Regions from separate parts of the Homo sapiens genome. Here regions 1 and 3 are each linked to region 2. The links are contacts of gene promoters, found by promoter capture Hi-C in blood cells and fetal thymus (Javierre and others, 2016). All regions are on one chromosome and are shown on one strand. The core of a region is centred on a gene start or on the middle of the fragment in contact, and the rest is flanking DNA. Distances in the headings are between cores, read along the strand shown. Region 1 overlaps AGPAT3 (1-acylglycerol-3-phosphate O-acyltransferase 3). Region 2 holds the start of RRP1 (ribosomal RNA processing 1). Region 3 overlaps AGPAT3 (1-acylglycerol-3-phosphate O-acyltransferase 3).

Region 1 (4,429 bases), core at 623-3,122, 160 kb before region 2:
TCGGGTTCAACATTTCTGGTCAAGAATGCATGGCAGAGCCGCTGGGTACTTCCTGCCACATCCCACTGGAGGCCCATAAAGCCACTTGGCCGGCGATGTGGAACCTCGCCTCACTTGGTTATGGTGGCACCACTGACACCCTGACCGCAGCAGATAGCCTGGGCAGCCCCCAGCACCCTGGGGACCTTGGAGAACGCCTGGGATAGAAGAGCCACACAGGGTGGGACCTCAGGGGTGGGACCTCTGGGGCTCCATCTGATTTCTGGGGCTGGGGCTGGGAGGTGTGACAGTGGGCCTCTCCAGTCCCCATGGCACCTTTTCATGGCTGCTCAGATGCCACCGAGACACTGAGGACACTGAGTTGCTTCTGAGCCCCTTCATTAAACAACAGGTTTAGGTCGCCCAGAAGCTTGGTGCCAGCGCGTCTTCATTAAACAACAGATTTAGGTTGCCCGGAAGCCTGGCGCCAGCACATCTTGGTCCTGGGGCGTGATGGCTGCTTCTTGGGTTTTGTCCTGGCCCCTGCACAAGCTACCGGGGTGTGCACCTTCTTAGATCAGGGGAGCAAAGGTGAGGCACGAGGCTGCCTCTGCCTGGGCAGGGCCAGAGCACTGCTTGCCAATCAGAGCCCAGCCCCACACGCCCACACCCAATTCTGCCACCTTTTGTTAGGGTGAACTGAGTTCCTTCCACAAAGGTAATGCCCAGGTCCTCGAAATGTGACCTTATTTGGAGACAGGGCCTTTAACACAGTAATTAAGTTAAATGATATCATCAGGGTGGGCGCTGATTCCATCTGACCGGTGTCCTTATGAAAAAGGGAGACCGCCTGCAGTCAGAGCCCGGGTGAGAAGCCTCAGAAGGAATCCTTGACCTTGGACCTGCAGCCTCCAGGACCACAGGACGACAAAAGCCTGCAGCTGCAGCCCCGCCTCTGGTGCCGTCACACAGCCCAATCGCACTCACAGGCCGCCTCATCCCAGGTCCGTAGTTCTGGAGAGGTACGGGCCCATCCCCGTGTTCCGCCATCCAGCCCACCCCCTGCCTGCCCCAGGTCCTTCGCTGCAGCATGTGGACCCTCCTCCCCGTCGCTGGTCCCTGTGACCCTCTTCCTCCAAAACCGGCCAGGCAGAGGATCTCACCCACATGCAGTCTCCCCAGAGACCCCCCTTCTTTGCCAAAATCCCCAACCTTTCCGAAGACGCCTTTTTATGGAATGGAAACTACAGTTCCGAGCCCACCACCTCCGCACCGCTGCCAGGCCCACCAGGCCCCTCCATTTCTTCCTTCTGAACAGAGGAGTCCCTGGTTTTCTCTGCACACATAGGACGGCAACTTCGTTTCTATGAGGGGTAAACACCAGTTTGTCTATCCATGAGCCTTTCATGCCTCTGTCACCAGCGCTGAAATCCCCCAGAGGAGATGGCACAGCCTCTGAAATATAGCACTATCTTCCCAAAACGCCACAGAGTGCCCACCCCAGCTGGCGTCCTGCTCTGTGCAGGGGCAGGAGCTGGGCAGAGCTGGGATGGGACCTGCTGTCCTTGGGTCCTGGGGTCCAGGAAGAAGATGTCACCACTGGCAACTATTCTGGGATCAGCAGATGCTCCCAAACCCTGGAATTCTCCCTTTGCCCTGCCCAAGCCGCCCTTCCGAGAGCAAGGCTAGCTCTCAGCAGACAGCAGTTGGCGGAGGAGAAAGACATTTCAGGATGCCAAAAGCACATCATTTCTGATGCTCTAGACAGGAGTTTTGAGTTGTGGGATAAAGATAACTTCTTAGTTCCATATGGATTTCAGTGATCCAAATCCAAGTCCATAATGGGGAACTGAGAAACGGCTGTCAGCTCCCTCCTTCCCCCCTTCCTCTTCTCTGTCCCGCCCACCCCGCACCCAAGGGCTCTGGTGTAGTGGGCCGAGCAGACCTGGCCCCTGCGAGGTGGTGGCACGGGAGGGCCTTGTGTGCTGGCTGCACAGGAGGGGACCACGGTGAGCCCCGGGCTCTTGGGTGCTGGGGAAAGCTCCACTGTTACTGTCAGCAGACGCTGGAGGAGAAAGTCCACCATCAGGAACAGTAGAGACGCAGTGATATCTCAAAGGGTCTTCATTTAGGTGGCAACGTTTACTATTCAGAACACCGCCAAGAACCCGGAAATAAACTGCACACACTTTCTGAGAAGCCAGCCTAGGTGTCCCATAAGGAAAAAGACTTCACTCACAGTGGACCTTTCGGGCCCTGCATTGGGTCCTCCTTCCTCCCGCTTTAAACGCAGCGTGGACAAGTGTGACGGGCTGGTTTCCTGGCCCACAGCTCATTGGAAGTGCGGGCTGGGGAACAGGGAAGAGGGGCTTGCAGAAGGCAGGCATGCCGCTGACAGCACTACCTGGGGCAGAAACGAGCCCAGGACTTGAGGCCCCTTGGAGGCCACTGAGCAGCGGGGGCGCGGTTGCAGGCTCTCTGACATCACGCATGAGGGCACAATGCGGTGACTGTGGCCCACGCTGATCTCGTCCGAATGCTGAGAGAGGGCGGCGTCACAGTTACCACATTATCTGAGAAGTCTGGTAAGCAGCGAAGATACTACTAAGCATTCAACTAAAATTTTAGATGAAACAAACACAATCCTATTTTGAGGTTTAAAGGGCAAATTTCAGTTCTTGGGTAAATTCACTTACAGAGACCACCTTACCTCTTCATAAGCCTGAAAAATATGAAATTGTTGCCAGCCCAACCTTATCAGCATTTGGAATTAGCAGGAGACTAAAAGTCTGGCAGGAGGAGGTGAAACTGTCAGTCTGTGCAGACGATTGTGTAGCCTCAATACCCAGGAGAATCCAAATCTACTACAACAGGAACTAGAGTTGATAGTGATGCTAACAGGAATAATGTACAACATGCAGACTGCAGTGGCCTCCGAATCAGTCAGAAGAGACCAAGACAATCACAGAGTTTATCTCTTGCTCTCTTAATGGCTCTAGGTCACTGGCAGCTCTGTCCCACATGGTCATCTGGGCCCAGGCTCTGGGGGCTCCACCACCTTCAACACGAGGCTTCCAAGACTGCCTGGCTGGTGCCTTTCAGGCAGGTGGGAGAGGGGGAAACTGGAAGTTTAGGGGAAGGGCTGTCCTCTACGGCAAGTAGGATGCAAGTTTGCAGCCCAGCGCAAGTGCTTACAGCTTGGGAGGATATGGATATATGATCCCCTTGTGTGTTCAGGAGCCAAGGAGAGGGGCCCAGCAGACCACCCCTCCACAGGAACACACAAAAGCAGAAGGTGTCTTGAAGGAGAGCGCAGATTGCAATAAGAAAGAGAAAATACCTAAACAAAAGCTTCAGAGGAAATAAAGCCTCTATGAGGAAACCACAGAACATCTTGAAAGATACAAAAGCAGAGCTGAACAAATGGAAAAACCCCGTGTGACCAGGCTGCAACCACCCCTTCCCTGAACACATGCCCTTAGTAACGTGCAGCTCCTCCTGCCAAGACATGGAGTCTACTCCCCACCCTTTTGAACCCAGGTTGACTTCAGGGCTCACCCTATCAATAGAATGTGGTGGGATTGGTGTCACAGGACTTCCAAGACAGTCTTTAGAGCGTTGCCACTCCCTTACACCCTTGTGGCCATCAGAGGTGGTGGCTTGGGCTAGTCTGACAGAAGGTGGTCCCACATGGAGCAGAAATGGACCAGAAATGGGCCATTCCACCTGAGGTTCTCCAGGCAGCTCTAGCTGACGACAGCCACTCCAATGACCCCAGGGGAAACCAGCAGAAGAACCATGTTGCTGAGCCCAACCCAAATTGCTGACCCACAGAATTGAGGGCCCCCCGACATGATGGTTGTTTTAAATTGATACATTTTGAGGTGGTTTGTTAGATAGTAATATGTAAATGATACATAAACCTAAATATATAACTGAATCCTAATTAAAATAGCAAAAGCTCCCCCCCAGCCCCAGAACTAGACATACTGATTCTATAGTTCATATGGAAAACTAAACAGGGAAGAAAAGCCAGGAAAATCATGAAAAAGAACAAGAAAATAGCCCTAAAATACACTACAACATCTAGAAAGCCTCAATAATTAAAACAGCACAGTACCGGCTTATCAGTAGACATGCAGACCAACAATTGAGACTAAAGAGTCAATGCTTCACTGACTAGGAGCAGCTGTCTGGGGCACCTCAGCACCTGGAGCAGGGTGTGGATCTGCAGCCACTGTTTGGGGACTTGGATCCCATGTGCATGAAGCACTGACTACACGTTCGTCAACAACACACATCTCACATGATCCATTCCATTTCTATTGTATTTATATTTCTATTGTATTTAGATACTGATAAAATAAATAAAATACAAAATTAAAACCGCTGCTAGGTTCATGAGAATCTTTTAGCATTGCCTGTTTTCTCAACCAATGGATTTAAAGGC
Region 2 (4,824 bases), core at 1,282-3,781:
ATTCACAATTTGAGAAACAATGTTTGGAAAAGGCTAGCAGGAGACGTCCTTGTCTCAGGAGACTTGAATTCCGCCCCGTGGTTTCCACTATTTCAGCACTTGTTTGCAACCCAGGACAAACACAAAACCCAGTTTTCACCCATGCCAGTGCTGCTGCAGTGCACGGCTCAGTCAATCACATCAACACCTCAGCAAGTGTAAGACTCACCTAACAAAGGCCCAGGCCCACCAGCCGTGCCGAACCAAGCGTCAAGGCTATACGACCTCCCCACGGTCTCTGGCCATATTAAAACTGGGTTGACCAGGCCGGGCGCGGTGGCTCATGCCTGTAATCCCAGCACTTTGGGAGGCCGAGATGGGAGGATCACTTGAGCTCAGGAGTTCGAGACCAGCCTGACCAACATGATGAAACTCTGTCTCTACTAAAAATACAAAAAATTAGCCAGGCATGGTGGCAGGTACCTGTACTCCCAGCTACTTGGGAGGCTGAGGCAGGAAAATTGCTTGAAACCAGAAGGCTGAGGTTGCAGTAAGCCGAGATTGAGCCACTGCACTCCAGCCTGGGCAACAAGAGCGAAACTCCGACTTAAAAAAAAAAGAAAAACTGGGTTGACCAGATGCCCATCCATCCTCCCCCGCTGCTTCTGTACCTGCTCTGCTGCTCCCCCCACTCACCTGGAGGAGTGGCTTGTCCTGCATCCACATGCAATAAAACAGTCCTTTCCACACCTTCAGCAGCTCGTCGTGCGTAAAACCACCTGCATCAAAACAGCAACGGTTGGACCAAATGAATCCCACACCTTCGAGTGCCAGAAAGGAAGCCACAGAAACGTGACTGCCTGAATGAGACCAAAGTCCCACTTACGGTAAAGGCAACTGGGGGGCAGAATCTGGCCCTCCCCTTCAAACAATCCTTCTAACCCAGAACCTGCCGCGCCTGTGGCTATGCGGCTACTCCAGGTAACTGCTACTTCACGCACACAGTAAAACCGACTGAGATCTACAAGGTATCAGGCACCATACTCCATTTTGGAAATTCAAAATTGCGAACCTTGACGGTTTCCTAAGCTGGACAGTGGCCACAAGGTTAATCTGTTGGTGATAATTCATCCAGCATTATACTGAGGGCTTCTGCACTCTCCTGTAATATATCTCAAATACTAAAAGAAGAAAGTGAACTCAGGCATTCAGACTACGAGAGAAACAGAAATTACTGAGGCCAGGTGCGGTGGCTCACGCCTGTACTCCCAGCACTTTGGAATTGAGTGCTGAGGCAGGATCACTTGAGGCCAGGAGTTCAAGACCAGTCTGGGCAACATAGGAAGACCCCAATTTGTACAAAAAATACAAAACTTAGCTGGCCTGGCCGCACGGTGCCAGTAGTCCCAGCTATTGGGGAGGCTGAGATGGGAGGCTCACTTGAGCCTGGGAGGTAGAGGCTGCAGTGAGCTGTAATCGTGCCAATGCACTCCTCCACCACGGATGACAGTGAGGTCTGTCTCACTCAGAAAAATAACAAAAAATTTTAATTTAAAACATTACTCAGTTGACATTCACTGAAGTCCTATGTGTCTGGCAACCTGTTCCTGCAGCAGTGGTTCTCAGGCTGAGTGTGGGGAGCAGAAGCACTTGAACAGCTTCATAAAGCAGATGCCAGTCCTGATTTAGTAGGGCTGGGATCCTAGAACTTGCATTTCTTTCTTTTCTTTTGCGATGGAAATGGAGTCTTGCTATGTTGCCCAGGCTGGACTCCTGGGCCTTTGTGATCCTCCCACATCGACGTGCCAAGTAGCTGGGATTACAGGCTTGGGCCACTGCGCCCGGCATAGAACGTGTATTTCTAACAAATGTCCAGGGGATGCTACTGCTGATGGGGGACCACGCTCGGAGAACCACCTGGTACCATGAACAAGAAGTAGATTCTCGGCCCTCAGAGAGGTACTCTCGAGTGGAAATCGGAAAACAATCCAATAATTAACGCAAAACAGAAAACTGCAAACAGTGGGAAATGCTGCCATGAGGGAAAAATACTGGGTGCCCAAACAGCAGGGCAGCAGGAGTACATGGTCTACTGGAGGGAGGGGACGCCTGAGCTAGGAAAGGGGTTACGGGGCTGGGGAGGAGCGTTCTCGCAGAGGGACCAGAGTCACCGCACCACGAGGGAAAGCGGCGGCGGGGGCCGTGGGCCGGTAACAGCGGGAACAGGCCAGTGGACCCCGCCTGCCCGGCCCGGCCACGTGGAGGTTCCACAGGGCTCGGAGGGCCCCCAGCTCCGGCCGCCGCCGCCCACACCCGCACCAGCCCAGCCGGCCCCCGAGACGCCAGCCGCCCACACCCCCGCCAACCTGCGGCCCGCTGAGTCCTGGCGACGATGTATTTCCGGAGCTTCCTCACCGCCCGGTCCCGGGTCACCTGCTCATTCCCCGCCAGGCGCTGAGCCAGCTGGATCTCAGGCGGGAGCTGCACGCGCGAAACCATGACGCCGACGGCCGAGACCCCCTGTCCCGGAGTCGCCTGGTACCCAGCACACTGAGCACGCGCCTCCTGCGCCCGCCTCCTCCTGGCCCCGGCGCGTGGCGTGACGTCACAGCCCGCGACACCGCCCAGGCGCACGCCACCGCCGCGCAGTGGCCGAGCCGCGCAACTGCAGCCCCCGGAGGCCGAAGGCTACAGAGGGGGCGCGCGCTCCCTGCCTGTGCGCATGGGCGGAACCAGCGAGCGCGCGCCTGCGCCTGCGCCTGCGCCTCGCTGGGGCTGCGGTGGGTCGGGATTCTGAGGCAAAGATCTGTTGTTTTTTAATCTCATTTTATTTATAACCCCACTTGTATTTTTTTCCTGAGACAGGGTCTCGCTCTGTTACCCACGCTGGAGTGCAAGGCGCGATCTCGGCTCACTGCAGCCTTTGCCTCGCGGGCTCCAGGGATCCCCCAGCCTCAGCCTCCCGAGGAGCTGGGACCACGGGCGCCACCACTCTCGGCTCGAAACTTTATTTTTAAAACCAGGGGTGTGCCGGGCGCGGTGGCTCACGCCTGTAATTCCAGCACTTTGGGAGGCTGAGGCGGGTGGATCACGAGGTCAGGAGTTTGAGACCAGCCTGACCAACATGGTGAAACCCTGTCTCTACTAAAAATACAAAAATTAGCCAGGCGTAGTGGCGGGCGCTTGTAATCCCAGCTACTCAGGAGGCTGAGGCAGGAGAATTGCTTGAATCCGGGAGGCGGAGGTTGCAGTGAGTCGAGATTGCGCCGCTGCACTCCAGCCTGGGCGACAGAGTGAGACTCTGTCTCAAAAAACAACAACAAAAAAAAAAACGGGGAGGCTGCATTTGGCCTAGGGCCACAGTTTGACATACCCTGAAGTAGAAAAATATTCTTTATTTTTAGAAATAACTGCAGAACTCTTTGGTAAAGGTGACCTGTCATGATGTCTGTAATTCATTCTGCAAAAAAGTAAATCATTACACGCACATATGTGTATGCAGATAAGCAACTATGGCACACTGTTAACAGTTGTGGCGTTGGCCGGGCGCGGTGGCTCACGCCTGTAATCCCAGCACTTTGGGAGGCCGAGGCGGGCGGATCATGAGGTCAGGAGATCGAGACCATCCTGGCTAACACGGTGAAACCCCGTCTCTACTAAAAACACAAAAAATTAGCTGAGCGTGGTGGCGGGCGCCTGTAGTCCCAGCTACTCAGGAGGCTGAGGCAGGAGAATGGCGTGAACCCCGGAGGCGGAGCTTGCAGTGAGCCGAGATCGCGCCACTGCACCCCAGCCTGGGTGACAGAGTGAGACTCCGTCTCAAAAAAATACAAGTGTGGCGTCTACAGGCAGGAATACAGGTCTTCATTGACCTATCTTCTGACATTTTCTATGTATGAAATTTTTCATAAAAAGTTGAAAAGGCTGGCAGTGGTGGCTCATGCCTGTAATCCCAACCATCACTTGGGGAGGCCAAAGCAGGTGGATCACCCGAGGTCAGGAGTTCGAGACCATCCTGGCCAACATGGTGAAACCCCATCTCTACTAAAAATACAAAAATTAGCTGGGTGTGGTGGCGAGCACCTGTAATCCCAGCTACTCGGGAGGCTGAGGCAAGAGAATTGCTTGAACACAGGAGGCGGAGGTTGCAGTGAGCCAAGATCCGGCCACTGCACTCCAGCCTGGGCGACAGATTTTGAAACTCTGTCTAAAAAGAAAAAAAAAAGGAAACATTTAGCAACTGGTTTTAGAATCTGAATTAGTTCTTGTTGTTGTTGTTGTTGTTGAGACAGTTTCACTCTGTCGCCCGGGCTGGAGTGCAGTGGCACGATCTTGGCTCACTGCAACCTCCACCTCCAGGATTCAAGCAATTTCTGGCTAATTTTTGTGTTTTTAGTAGAGATGGGGTTTCACCATGTTGGCCAGGCTGATCTCGAACTCCTGACCTCAGGTGATCGGGCTGCCTCGGTCTCCCCAAAGTGCTGGGATTACAGGCGGGAGGCACTGCACCCAGCCAGCCTCTCCTCTTCTTATGAGGACGTCAGTCAGTGTGGACTTAGGCCTGCCTTAATTTAGCATGACCTCATGTTAACTAACCATGTCTGGAAAGACCCGTTTACCAAATTAAGGCCACATTCCGAGGTTCCAGCGGACATGACTTTCCGGGGGACAAGCACGAATGAGAAGAGGCCCTGCACTCACACAGTGGGTATGTCGCACGCACACACTGGGTATGTCACGCACAGTGGGCATGTTGCACGCACACAGTGGGCATGTCAGGCGCACAGTGGGTATGTCGCACGCACACAGTGGGTATGTTGCACGCACGCAATGGGCATGTCAGGT
Region 3 (4,354 bases), core at 495-2,994, 200 kb before region 2:
CCGGCGACACCAATGTCCCTGGTAACTTCCTGGGCTCCCTAAAAGTGTTCCCGTCATTCTATTTCCCGAGCAGTTTGTAAGAATGCCACCATTATCCCTGAATTAACAAGCAGCCAGTGGCGAGTGTTCATGATAAAACTGAATTCATGTGTCCACCCCACTCCAGCAGATCAGTGTGACATCTTTTACGCAAAAATTGTTTTTGCATCCTGGCCCCGATAGGCAGGAATACGGAGCCGGATGTCTGCATCCCCCAGGTCGGCCCCACGGCAGGGGTATGGGGCAGAGCCAGGGCGGAGTCAGGGGTGTGGCCGGCCCCATCCCCCGAGGCCCGAGGGGGCTTGCCTTTGGTTTGGGGACTAGCTCAGTAGAGAAAGGGGCAGGCACACGGCCGGGGACGTGCTGTTTCCAGAAAGAAGGCAGGCAGGCTTTTCGGGCTGGCCGTTTGAACCCTGAGCCTAGGTGCAGTGCAAGGGCTAGAAGCACATCGCGCCGTGGAGCACTAGTATTGCACGCCAGGGGCTGCATGCAGTGAGCCACAGGCCAGAGGCCTGCAGCGGGAGTCTACGCATGGGGCTGAACAAGTCAGGTGAAAATCTGCAGGGCTGGAGAGATTATACTTGGCTTGTTGTAGAAGTGTCTCAGGTAGAGACAAAGCATGCAGAAACTTACTCATTCTTCACCCCAAATCTGACCCCAACCGGTAGTCACAACAGGCATGGACAGCCTGGCAACAGCTACTCAATTGCACGTGAGTGAAACACACAGCTGGGTCCAACCACGGCTTTTCCTTCAAATCAACATCAATGCTCAGCAATACCGCAACGAACAGCGTGAGGAAAGATTCTCATGCCACGGTGCGCGAAAGGGAGTCGGGACAGGCAAGGCAGAGAGACTCAAAATTCATCGACAGGACGTGCTTTTTTTTTTTTTTTACACAAGAAAGTGCTGCTTACATTGTTGTTTTGTGTTATTTAGTGATTTGTTCAGCGCTCATCTCTTCCACCAGACTGCGCTTCCTGAGGACAGGGACCTTAAAGCACCTCACATAGGGTGCGCGTCTGGTACACTGTCGCCGAGTACCAGACAACCAGTGTCTCACACGGGGGAAGACGATGAAGACAGCAATGGCATCCTTGGGAAGATGGGCAGGAGACCCCATGACACCTGGCACCTGGGCCTAAGCTGGGAGGCCAGCGGCGTCCCCAGGAGACCACGGCCCAGGCTGGGAGCTTGACCGGCCAGACGCCCGTGGGTGGGCCTGGGCCCTCCCGCCTGGGAGCCTCCAGTGTGGCGCCTGGCTCTGGGTGGGTAACAGGAGCTACAGGCCAGCAATGCCCTTCCTGTCCTCGGCCTGGCTCAAGGACTGGGTGCAGAGGGCATCAGCGATGCCAGGCCTAGAATGTGCCTCACCCCGACAGTGGCCAGCACGGACTGTGGGCTACAGAGTTGCTTCAGCCTGAGCACTCAGCCTGAATTTGGACATAACATCAACTGAATTAAGCTCAGAAGTAGGGTGTAAAGGAAAAAGAAAAAAAAAAGACTGTTCTGGGATTTATGAATTTAATTTAAAAAATGTAAAGGAGCTCTCCTCCCCTTTTCCTTCTGGATGAAAAGCAAAATCCACCCTCCCCCCCCCAAAAAAAAAAAATTCAAACATTCATGGTGTAGTTTTTATTGCTCTTAAAGACTTGGTGTTGAGAAGCACAAGCTAAGCTGTGAGATGGGAAGGAAACCAGATGAGGTGTGACCCCTGCGCCTGGGCCTCCGTCTCCACTCTAACCTAGGGGCTGCCCAGCTCCGCCATGGCTCAGTGCAGAATTTATACATTATATATTAATTTCAAAGGGAGGGAACTTCTATGGGAAACAATAATAATTAAATCATAAAAGATCTAAATTTGCATTTTCCAGGTCACATATGTGCATGGTCGTACCCTTCAGCTTTTTTCCTTAAAGATTTTGCAGGTGTTAGTGAGTCAGTGAATGGCATGGATCTAAACACACATGGAGACGGATGAGCAGCGTGCGGCATGAGGAAGGTGCAGGAGAATCTCTGGGGTGCTCAGCCAGGGGAGCGCATGCCCTGCCCACGGCACAGCTGCCCGAGTGGGCGGGTGGAGGGATGAGATTTCAGATGGAGGGAAGCACATTTCCAAAACAACAGTGTCTGCAAGCGTGTCTCGCATGGTGTCGTTGGTCTCATCTGGTTTCGTTGGTCTGCCCCTTCACCCCTGCGAGGAGCCGTGCTCTGAGCAGGTGTGCACAGGTGGCGTCCCGCACACGCCCTGAGAGCACGGCCCCCACAGACCCGGGGCCCGGCAGCGCCTCCATCATGCAGAACGCTGCCGTCCCCTCCAATCTCCCCAGGACACTTAGGCCCGATGCCTAATTATGTTCTCGGTTTACTTTTCTTCATGCCTCTTTTCTCCATTTGTTTTCCCCTAGAAAACTCAACCTACCTCTATTCAGAACGCTGGTTTCAAGATATCAGAGATAACACCCATTTTGGTTTTTTTACCTTGCTAAAAAGATGAGGGCGCTGTGACTTAGAACAAGCAAGTCGAAAGCCAAATGCAGGTGGGCTGATGGTACCGCAACCAAGTTGAGCGTTCTACCACTGCCATTGCCCCAGGGGCCCCACCTGGCCATGCCGGGGGAGTGGACATGCTGTAGGGAGAAGCATCCCTCGCTCGGCGTGGGCCAGGGGCTCGCTGCAAGGCCAAGGGAGCCAGCATGACCGGCCGAGCGCTGCCCTCTGCTCTGCCTGGACTCTCAGAGACGTCCAGGAGGTAGGGAGCTGGGCGCTCAGGGGTGGCCGGGCCACAGTGACACCGGCCAGGATGGGGGCGGGCCTTCCCCAAGGACACAGTGCGAGGCTGGGGGGTGGGGGGTGCCCCACCTCTAGTTTCCAGCAGGAAGTTGAAAACCACCAAGAGATCAACCAGTAAAAATAAAATCTCTAGAAGTCAATGAGCTCAGTGTTAACAGTCTCCAACCACCTTTAAAAAACAGAGGGTTGACGGTGCCGTCGCTTCTTCTGAAGCATCCTAGAGTCCCACAGGCTGCCCTGTTCTCCCTCCTTGGCTCCTGATCTGTGGGATGGGGGGGCGCGCGGTAGCCCCGAGGGTCCTCCCTCCCCAGCACCCAGTGTGGAGGGACCAGGATCTGACAGCCATGAGAGCGACAAAGGAGCTTTAGGTGCATGGAGAACTCTGCATTTCACTGAGTTCTCAGGGGCCCATCCACTTTAAAAACAGATGTACGTATTTACACACAAGGTCAGATAGGAGCTAGGACAGACAGGGCTCTAGAAAGTGAGGTGGGGCGTTCGCCCTCAGCCAGCCCCAGGACAGGGCAGAGTGAGGGCTCCGACTTCGAGGAATGGACCTGACGTTCGTGCCGGTGTGCTTATCACTACGGGCGCCCTCCACGGGGCCCCCACTGGGAGCCAAGGTGCTGAGCCGAGCGATGCTCCCGGGGGACGGGACCCGGCCGTCCACTCCCAGGAGGACAGCAGAAATTCATTACGAGACAGTTTCGGGGGCGGGGGGTGCAGAAGAGGTGAGGGGCCAGGTTAAGTTCCCAAGATAACTGATTAAAAACCAAAAAATTTGATCTAAGTTTAAGGAGAGAAAGCAGCCAAAGGCTCCCTCTTGGAAGCGGAGTTCTGGAGAGACGGCGTCCGCGGGAGGCCTCTCCGGCCGGACCCACCTCCCACGGGCGCGCGTGGAGATGCTGGGACCCTGCGCTGTGGGAGGCTGAAGACTTCACCTGACAGGCCTTCTGAATTCTTTACTCTTGGCTCAAGTTTTGTTAATATTAGTCACCAGTTAATAAGAAAAATAGTTTCTAATTGTCTTTTCCTGCACTCTGTGTGTTGGTTTTGAGTTAACTGGATACCACCGTCAGGGCCGCGTGTGTTCAGTCACAGCCATTAATTATTCCTTTTTCTTAAACTCTTGGTTTCCGTAGCTGGAGCCTTTTTCTATCTCAGTTACTCCTATCAGTCTGCGAACTCCAAAGGAAGCTTTCAAGACAGGAGAGAGAGAGAAGAGGTGAGACGGATGACTTTGCCTTTTTGCTGTAAAACGTGTTACTGGGGCTTCCTTCCTCTGCCCCAGACCCTGTCCCTCTGCCCCGCACCCAGTGGCCTCTGCTGTCAGTGAGTAGGTGTGGCCCGCGGGGAGACAGCCCTCTCAGACCGTGGTCTGCTCAGGCAGGGGTGAGGGGCACGTCTTCTGACCGGCTGGGTCCGAGGCAGGTGGACACGTGGACCTTGCCCTGCCTGCCCCTCTGGGTCTTTGGCTGGTGGGAGCAGAAGGGCTTCGGGGCATTCTAACAGCTCGGCCTTG

The links. Contacts are between HindIII fragments. The CHiCAGO score rates a contact against its expected background, and 5 or more counts as called.
Region 1: a contact is called between a fragment that was not itself captured here and the fragment with the promoter of RRP1 in region 2, in 1 of 17 cell types (endothelial precursors). The highest score is 6.3, in endothelial precursors.
Region 3: a contact is called between a fragment that was not itself captured here and the fragment with the promoter of RRP1 in region 2, in 11 of 17 cell types (endothelial precursors, activated CD4 T cells, M1 macrophages and 8 more). The highest score is 13.5, in endothelial precursors.

The regions. Positions count from the first base shown.
Region 1 is chr21:43,948,664-43,953,092 of GRCh38, reverse strand. The region is part of intron 2 of AGPAT3 (1-acylglycerol-3-phosphate O-acyltransferase 3); the gene reads right to left. Among named protein-coding and RNA genes, the nearest start is that of TRAPPC10, 61 kb to the left of the region's middle. The HindIII fragment of the contact is 2,921 bases long and covers 412-3,332 here.
Region 2 is chr21:43,787,284-43,792,107 of GRCh38, reverse strand. RRP1 (ribosomal RNA processing 1) reads right to left here and starts at 2,531. Exons shown (of 13, transcript NM_003683.6): 1 at 2,346-2,531; 2 at 676-758. The coding sequence starts at 2,478. RefSeq lists silencers at 1-181, 2,121-2,290, 2,501-2,730 and enhancers at 2,361-2,470, 4,626-4,824. The HindIII fragment of the contact is 31,682 bases long and covers 1-4,824 here.
Region 3 is chr21:43,981,979-43,986,332 of GRCh38, reverse strand. AGPAT3 (1-acylglycerol-3-phosphate O-acyltransferase 3) reads right to left here. Exons shown (of 10, transcript NM_020132.5): 10 at 1-4,029. The coding sequence ends at 3,941. Among named protein-coding and RNA genes, the nearest start is that of TRAPPC10, 28 kb to the left of the region's middle. RefSeq lists enhancers at 1-389, 2,842-3,603, 3,604-4,354 and a silencer at 1,150-1,209. The HindIII fragment of the contact is 4,574 bases long and covers 1-4,031 here.